2 separate regions of the Homo sapiens genome follow, and region 2 is linked to region 1. The links are contacts of gene promoters, found by promoter capture Hi-C in human tissues and cell types (Jung and others, 2019). All regions are on one chromosome and are shown on one strand. The core of a region is centred on a gene start or on the middle of the fragment in contact, and the rest is flanking DNA. Distances in the headings are between cores, read along the strand shown.

Region 1 (3,596 bases), core at 698-3,197:
ACACAGCCCAGCTGCTCCACTGTCTACACCACACAGCCCAGCTGCTCCACTGTCTACACCACACAGCCCAGCTGCTCCACTGTCTACACCACACAGCCCAGCTGCTCCACTGTCTACACCACACAGCCCAGCTGCTCCACTGTCTACACCACACAGCCCAGCTGCTCCACTGTCTACACCACACAGCCCAGCTGCTCCACTGTCTACACCACACAGCCCAGCTGCTCCACTGTCTACACCACACAGCCCAGCTGCTCCACTGTCTACACCACACAGCCCAGCTGCTCCACTGTCTACACCACACAGCCCAGCTGCTCCACTGTCTACTGTCTACACCACACAGCCCAGCTGCTCCACTGTCTACACCACACAGCCCAGCTGCTCCACTGTCTGGTCCTTTGTCTACACCACACAGCCCAGCTGCTCCACTGTCTACACCACACAGCCCAGCTGCTCCACCGTCTGTCTACACCACACAGCCCAGCTGCTCCACTGTCTAGGTCTGCGTCAGCGCACTCTGCTTCCACAATGATGAAAGTACCTAACAATGAACTTCTCCAAAGTATCCCTGTTAAGTGATGCGGGCCGAACGTTAAATTATCATCTGTAGATGATCTCTTATAGTATCTAAAACATGTAAATCCTACATAAATAGTTGTGCTGTATTGTTTACAGAATAAGTCTGTATATGTTCAGTACAGATGAAATTTTTTTCCAAATATTTTATAATGTGCAGTTGGTTAAATCCATGGATATGGACCCCAAGGATACAGTAGGCCAACTGTATATTAGGTGATCACTAAGATAGGTTTCGTTACTACATAATTACTAGACTTTTTGACATGACTTTTTTTCCGGGGGGATGGGGCTGGGTCTTGCTATGTCTGTCGCCCAAGCTGGAGTGCAGTGGCGCGATCTCGGCTCACTGCAGCCTTCGACTCCGCCTCCCAAAGTGCTGGGATTAAAGGCGTGCACCACCGCCCAGCTGTAATGACAATTGCTCTTTCAGGATTTTCAGAATTCAGATTTTAAAGCTAAGCTGCATAATCACAAGATAAAATGAATACGTCTATTTATGCGTTTAAAGAATACCATGTAGTAGACGCGGGAACACATCATCCAACCCAAGAAAAAGGTCTAGTTCCATCTATGCGATGCTCCCCATCTCTTCTCCTGCTCCATTCCCAGGAGAAGCGCCTTGAGTGTGTTGCTGTCACCCTCTTGCACGGACGCAGGTGTATGCACCCGCGTCACACGCGTGGACTCGGCACGGGGAGGCCGGTGTCGTCACGCTCGTGTTTCTGACGATGCTGTCTACGCTTGTTTCTGAATTCTCTAAGGGGAGACTCGCAACTCTTAGTCTCCTGCGACTCGGTTTCCAGTTCCACGAGTTCCTAAACCTCAGGTGACTGTGCGCAGACGACGATCTTTTCCGCTGACAAAGAATGGCAACGTCTCTGACGCCCCGACTCACGCCTCCGCCTTCCACGGGGCGCGGGCGCCCACCACAGCCCGGGAAGGCCCGGCCTCCCTCCAGTTCGGGAGACCAACGCCGCCACCCCCAGCTGTCCAGGCCTCCGCGCCGAGACCTCACGGGTGGCTCAGACCTCGGGCCTCCTCCCCGCCCCGTCCCGCAGCTCCCCGATGCCGCCCTGCCCCTGTCTCCCGAACTCCGCCGCCCGTCCACAGTACCTGATCAGCCTCCGGCCACAGACAACCGCCGGTCCCGGATGGCGCCCGCTTTGAGCACAGTCTGCGGCGCGCACCGCCCACTGGCCCCGCCCCCGGGCCGCGCAGCCAATCGCTCGCGCCAGCGCCAGTCCACGCCACATCGCCCGGCCAATTGGCGCCCGTACGCGCTTGACGACACAATCTCGCCAAGCTTCGCCTGGTGGTGCCACCTCCCTGGCCTGTGACAACGGCAGACGCGCGAAGCACCGGGAACCTGAGCCGTGACCGCGGGCTCTGGCGCCTTTAAGGGGGTCAACACGCCCCACCCCCAGTTCCGCAGAGGCAGCGTCCCGCGACTGGGCGGTGCCCGAGACCACAGACGCCGCCAGCCAATCACGCTTTCGATCCTGCCGTGCGAGCCCGAGGCGCTGCGAACGGTGCCTAACGTCAGACGTCTCGAGGCTCGCGTTCCATGGAGGAAGCCCTCCCAATCCGAAAGCGCCCGGGCGCCAAGCCCTGCAGCCGGAAGCTCGGCGTCCCATGGGAGCGACCTCCGCATGGCTGGACCAATGGAAACGGAGGAAAGGCGGGACGTCACTGCTGACTGGCTGGTTGGGCACTCCCCCCCCTCCCCCCCCCCGAGTTCCGCCGCTGGGACTACAGCGTTTGGCTGCACGGGGAGTTCTCGTATGTCTAGAACGATGGCCTTTCTGCGGTGTCTGCGACCGGGACCAAGGCGGAGCAAAGTCGCCGGGGGTGTGGGGTGTTCCACGCTATGTTGGGAGTGTTCGCTTTCGAGGTACATGACTACGTTCTAAATTTTTTTTTTTTGAGACAGTTTCATTCTTGTTGCCCAGGCTTGAGTGCAATGGTGCAGTCTCCGCTCACAGCAACCTCCGCCGCCCGGGTTCAGGCAATTGTCCCGTCTCAGCCTCCCAAGTAGCTGGAATTACAGGCATGCGCCACCACGCCCGGCTTATTTCGTATTTTTAGTAGAGACGGGTTTCCGCATGTTGGTCAGGCTGGTCTGGAACTCCTGACCTCAAGTGATCCACCTGGCTCAGCTTACCGAAGTGCTGAGATTCCGGGTGTGAGCCACCGCGCCTAGCCCTCTAAACTTTTAAATAATCGTGAAATGTATGCGCAGCTGAAGCGAATTCAGCTATTTCCTCTACCTTTTGTGTGGAATTTAAAATACTGAACTTGTGAGATGAACCTGGTGGGCACCAGTTCTCAAACTTCTTGGTCACAGGACGCTTGCACTCTCTTAAAATGTACTGAGGACACCTAAAAGCTTTTGCTCACTGTTGTTTACTACTGCTATTTACTAACATAGAAATTAAACATATTAAAATATTCACTTAAAAAACACACGACACTAACATAAGTTATATTTTTATTAAAAATCTTTTCCAGACAAAAAACAGACTTTGATTTTGTTTTATGTGTTGACAGATCTCTTTCATGTCTGGCTTCACACAGATAAGAAAATCTGGCCTCCCGCATGCGCAGCAAGTCCTCACTGCTGTCAGTGCGTTCTTGGGAATCAGGACTTTTAAGTGAAACAACGTATAGCAAAACCAATTTTACCAGAGGCTAAAAAATAAGGATTAAGTTCCTAAAGCATACTTCTGGCCAAGGAAAAAAAAAATCACTAAGCTTCTAAAGGCCAAAGTATTCTAATATTAAACATTGAAATAAATGTGAGCTATACATACATTTAAGAAAGATGAATAAAAAGATAATTATTACTTAATTATTCCAGTTCTGGGTCATGTGTAGCTGAAGCCTGTTTCAGTAGCTCAGGGCACAAAGAGGGAACCAGCCCTGGACAGGACGCCATTCCATCACAGGGCCACTCACACACCCACACTCAGACTGGGACAGTGAAGACACACCAGTTCACCTCACGTGCACACCTCTGG
Region 2 (3,599 bases), core at 1,000-3,499, 2.0 Mb after region 1:
GGTGGGAATGTAAATTAATACAACTACTATGGAAAACAGTATGGAGATTTCTTAAAGAACTAAAAGTAGAACTACCATTCTATCCAGCAATCCTACTGCTCGGTATCTACCCAAAGGAAAAGAAGTCATTCTATGAAAAAGACTCTTGCACATGCATGTTTATGGCAGCACAATTCACAATAGCAAAGATACAGAACCAACCTAAGTGCCCGTCGACCAATGAGTGGATGCAGAAAATGTGGTATATATACATTGTGGAATGTTATCAGCCATTAAATGGAATAAAATAATGTCTTTTGCAGCAACTCAGATGGAGCTGGAAGCCATTATTCTAAGTGAAGTAACTCAGGAATGGAAAACCAAATATCGTATGCTCTCCCTTATAAGTGGGAGCTAAGCTATGAGGATGCAAAGACATACGAATGATATGATGGACTTTGGGGACTCGGCGGGGGGGAAGGTTGGGGTCTGAGGGATAAAAGACTACACCTTGGGTACAGTGTATACTGCTTGGGTGACAGGTGCACTAAAATCTCAGGAATCTCCACTAAAAAATGTGTAAACAAAACTACTTCTACCCCAAAAACTATTGAAAAAAAAAGCATGCCAAGTAAGAAAACAATAAAGTGATGGCAATTCATACCTGAAAGCTGATAACACGGCTGATGACCACTGGCACTGAGGCTGTGTGCTGGTGACTTCAGAAAATCAAGGGTACAACAGCCACCATCTTGGACAGAAAAATCACAGACCAGGATAGGACATGTATGCACCTGCGAGTGCGTATCACCTGTGTATTTTAATAAAATATAAAATACAACATCAGGACCGCCACACAGATGGGACTGTTGTTCAAGAAGCCGGTGATCAAGAGCTGAGCCCATGGAGACTTAAGGAGCAGGTGTTTTTTCCTTTGAGCCCATTGAAGGCTGAGGATACGATATTTCTGCCACCAATAAATAGTTTGTTATTCCATGAATATCTTGGAAGCCATTCTGAAACTGATCAATTCGAGAAAACAAGAGACCGATTACATGTTACAGGGGGGAAAAGTAAATGCAGTAAGACTCACTCACCCTGTGTCTCGCTCAACCAAAGGATGGACATGTCTGATGCATAGAGATACGGCAGTCTATATTTATTGAAGCTGGTAGGATTGGAAAACAAAACAGCATTCAATTATTGACCCAATTGTTTGTGGATGGGGTGGTGATTTCCAGGTCTCTTGTTTGTAGCCACATTTTTTCTATCCCTGTTTGCCTTATTATTAATATTTAATCGATCATTATTAAATAGGTCCTACCAAGTGCTACTAAGAGTCAGGTGCCATCTGTAGTGTTTGGTGTATTTTTTTCTAATTATGTCATTATCCCTACAGGTTGACTTATTTTTATGTCACAGATAAGACAAAGACTCAAAGGAAAGTGACCATGTTTCTGAACTTCGCCCAGCTAATAAGCAGCTGAGCTCAATTCAAACCCAAATCTGGCTCAACAGCCCAAACTCTTTATCCAGAAATTACGTTCTATTACATTTAGAAATATAAAACCAGATCAGGCAGGTGGCTCACACCTGTAATCCTGGCACTCTGGGAGGCCGAGGCAGGCGCATCACTTGAGGTCAGGAGTTCGAGACCAGCCTGGCCAACATGCTGAAACCCCGTCTCTATTAAAAATGCAAAAATTAGCCAGGTGTGGTGGTGTGTGCCTGTAGTTCCAGCTACCCGGGAGGCTGAGACAGGAGAATCGCTTGAACCCAGGAGGTGGAGGTTGCAGTGAGCCATGATCATGTCACTACACTCCAGCCTGGGTGACAGAGTGAGACTCCGTCTCAAAAACAAACAAACCAAAAAAAAAAAAAGAAAGAAATAGAAAACTGACTGCATATCAAGAGGTCCTTAAGAATAACAGCAGAGGCTGTGCTGCAGCCCATGGCCCACGAGCCCAGGGAGGCACAGCCCTGGTGCCATGGACAAATAGGCAGATGGCGTCTCTCTCAGTGTCCTTGTCCAGTGAGTGGGAACACTATGGCACTTTCCTCATGAGGTTATTAGGATGATTACGTAAATTAGAAATGCTAAAGGGCTTGGCGTGGTGCCTGGCACACAGCACAACACTTACAAAAAAAAAATCAGTAAAATAGAAATGTCAGTACAAGAGACAATGCTCACATTGGGATCATGTTACTGAGACCTAGTATTTGCCAGTACCAAACTTCTTTAGGAGAAGATCCCCAGACTGACCAATAGGATTCTAAGTTAGGTCATATTAGGATCTGCCCAGGACTTGCTGGATGTAATTAGTAAAGGTGACCAACTTGGGAGAACAAAAGGTTGTTCGTGGACATTCTTTTACCTTCTATAATAGATAAAGCCTTGTGTTCCTCAGTGCACCCACAGAACTCTTGTGAAAGGAGACTTTAAGGATATAAATTATCTTCTGGATCAAGCATGACTGATTTTTAGAAAAAAGTTTCAACGATGTAAAGGTCAGACATTCATGGTATTCTTGTTCAACAAAGTAGACGCTGAGATACAGTGAAGAGGTATTGTTGGAAGTTCCTCTTTATTGCTATATTATTTTAAATAGTTTTAATAAGAAAATTTGAGGAAACTGAAGTAGTCAAATGAGTCAAAATGCCCGAGTCTTCTGAAGATTAGGAAATCCATGATTCAGGAAAAATAGTGACCCTAATTATTCTCCAGTGGTTTTGGTTCAGCAGTTAATTCCATTTCTCACTGCGATTAAAATAGCTAAAGCTGACAACATGTGCTTTGCATGCCAACTATCTCAACTTCCCCTTCTACAAAAGTAAAACAACCCAAAATTAATAAACAGCAACATTCCAGTGTCCTTCACGATAACATTGAAGCCTGCCCCCTCCTTTAACAGTAACATTGATTGCTCCTATGTCTTGGAGCGTCTTTTCTTAAAAAAAAATTTTAAAAAAAAGTTTGAGTCAAGTCATTCATTTACACATCTGTAGGGGGACTTTTCCTTTCCTTCCACCTCAGTATTTATGGGCCTAATTTATCTATAAACATAGGGACCTCATATCCAGAGAGAACTCCCAGCACCAAAAGATATTCATCAGGATTCAGCATCATCTCACGGAGCTCATTCCAAGAGCTCGGAGTCTTCATTAATTCATTCCCTCTCCAAAGCAAACGTTGTCTTCATTCGATGAAGAGAAACACTTAGGACTGAGTAACGATGGTTGTGAAAAATAAAGCAGCATCCTTATGTATTCGTCTGCTCTCACACTGCTAACAAAGACAGACCCAAGACTGGGTAATGTATAAAGCAAAGAGGTTAAATGGACTTACAGTTTCACGTCGCTGGGGAGGCCTCAGAATCATGGCGGAAGCTGAATGAGGAGCAAAGTCATGTCTTATGTGGCGGCAGGCAAGAGAGCATGTGGGGGGGACGTCCCCTTTATAAAACCATCAGATCTCGTGAGACTTACTGTCACGAGAACAGCACGGGAAAGAACCCTCCCCCATTTTTCAATTACCTCCCACCAGGTCCCTCCCATGACACATGGGGATTATTGCAATTCCAGGTGAGATTTGGGTGGGGACACAGAGCCAAACCATATCA

Evidence for each region. The method cuts DNA at HindIII sites, captures the fragments that hold promoters and counts their contacts. A contact is called where the count stands out against the background at its distance.
Region 2: a fragment that was not itself captured here is called in contact with the fragment with the promoter of IDI1 in region 1 in 1 of the 25 tissues and cell types used here (mesenchymal stem cells).

What each region holds. Positions count from the first base shown.
Region 1 is chr10:1,047,172-1,050,767 of GRCh38, forward strand. IDI1 (isopentenyl-diphosphate delta isomerase 1) reads right to left here and starts at 1,948. Exons shown (of 5, transcript NM_004508.4): 1 at 1,693-1,948. The coding sequence starts at 1,832. RefSeq lists enhancers at 1,195-1,725, 1,726-2,255, 1,947-1,996, 2,256-2,785, 2,457-2,596 and silencers at 1,537-1,626, 1,637-1,856. The HindIII fragment of the contact is 3,155 bases long and covers 1-3,147 here.
Region 2 is chr10:3,032,135-3,035,733 of GRCh38, forward strand. No RefSeq gene overlaps it. Among named protein-coding and RNA genes, the nearest start is that of PFKP-DT, 33 kb to the right of the region's middle. The HindIII fragment of the contact is 5,516 bases long and covers 1-3,599 here.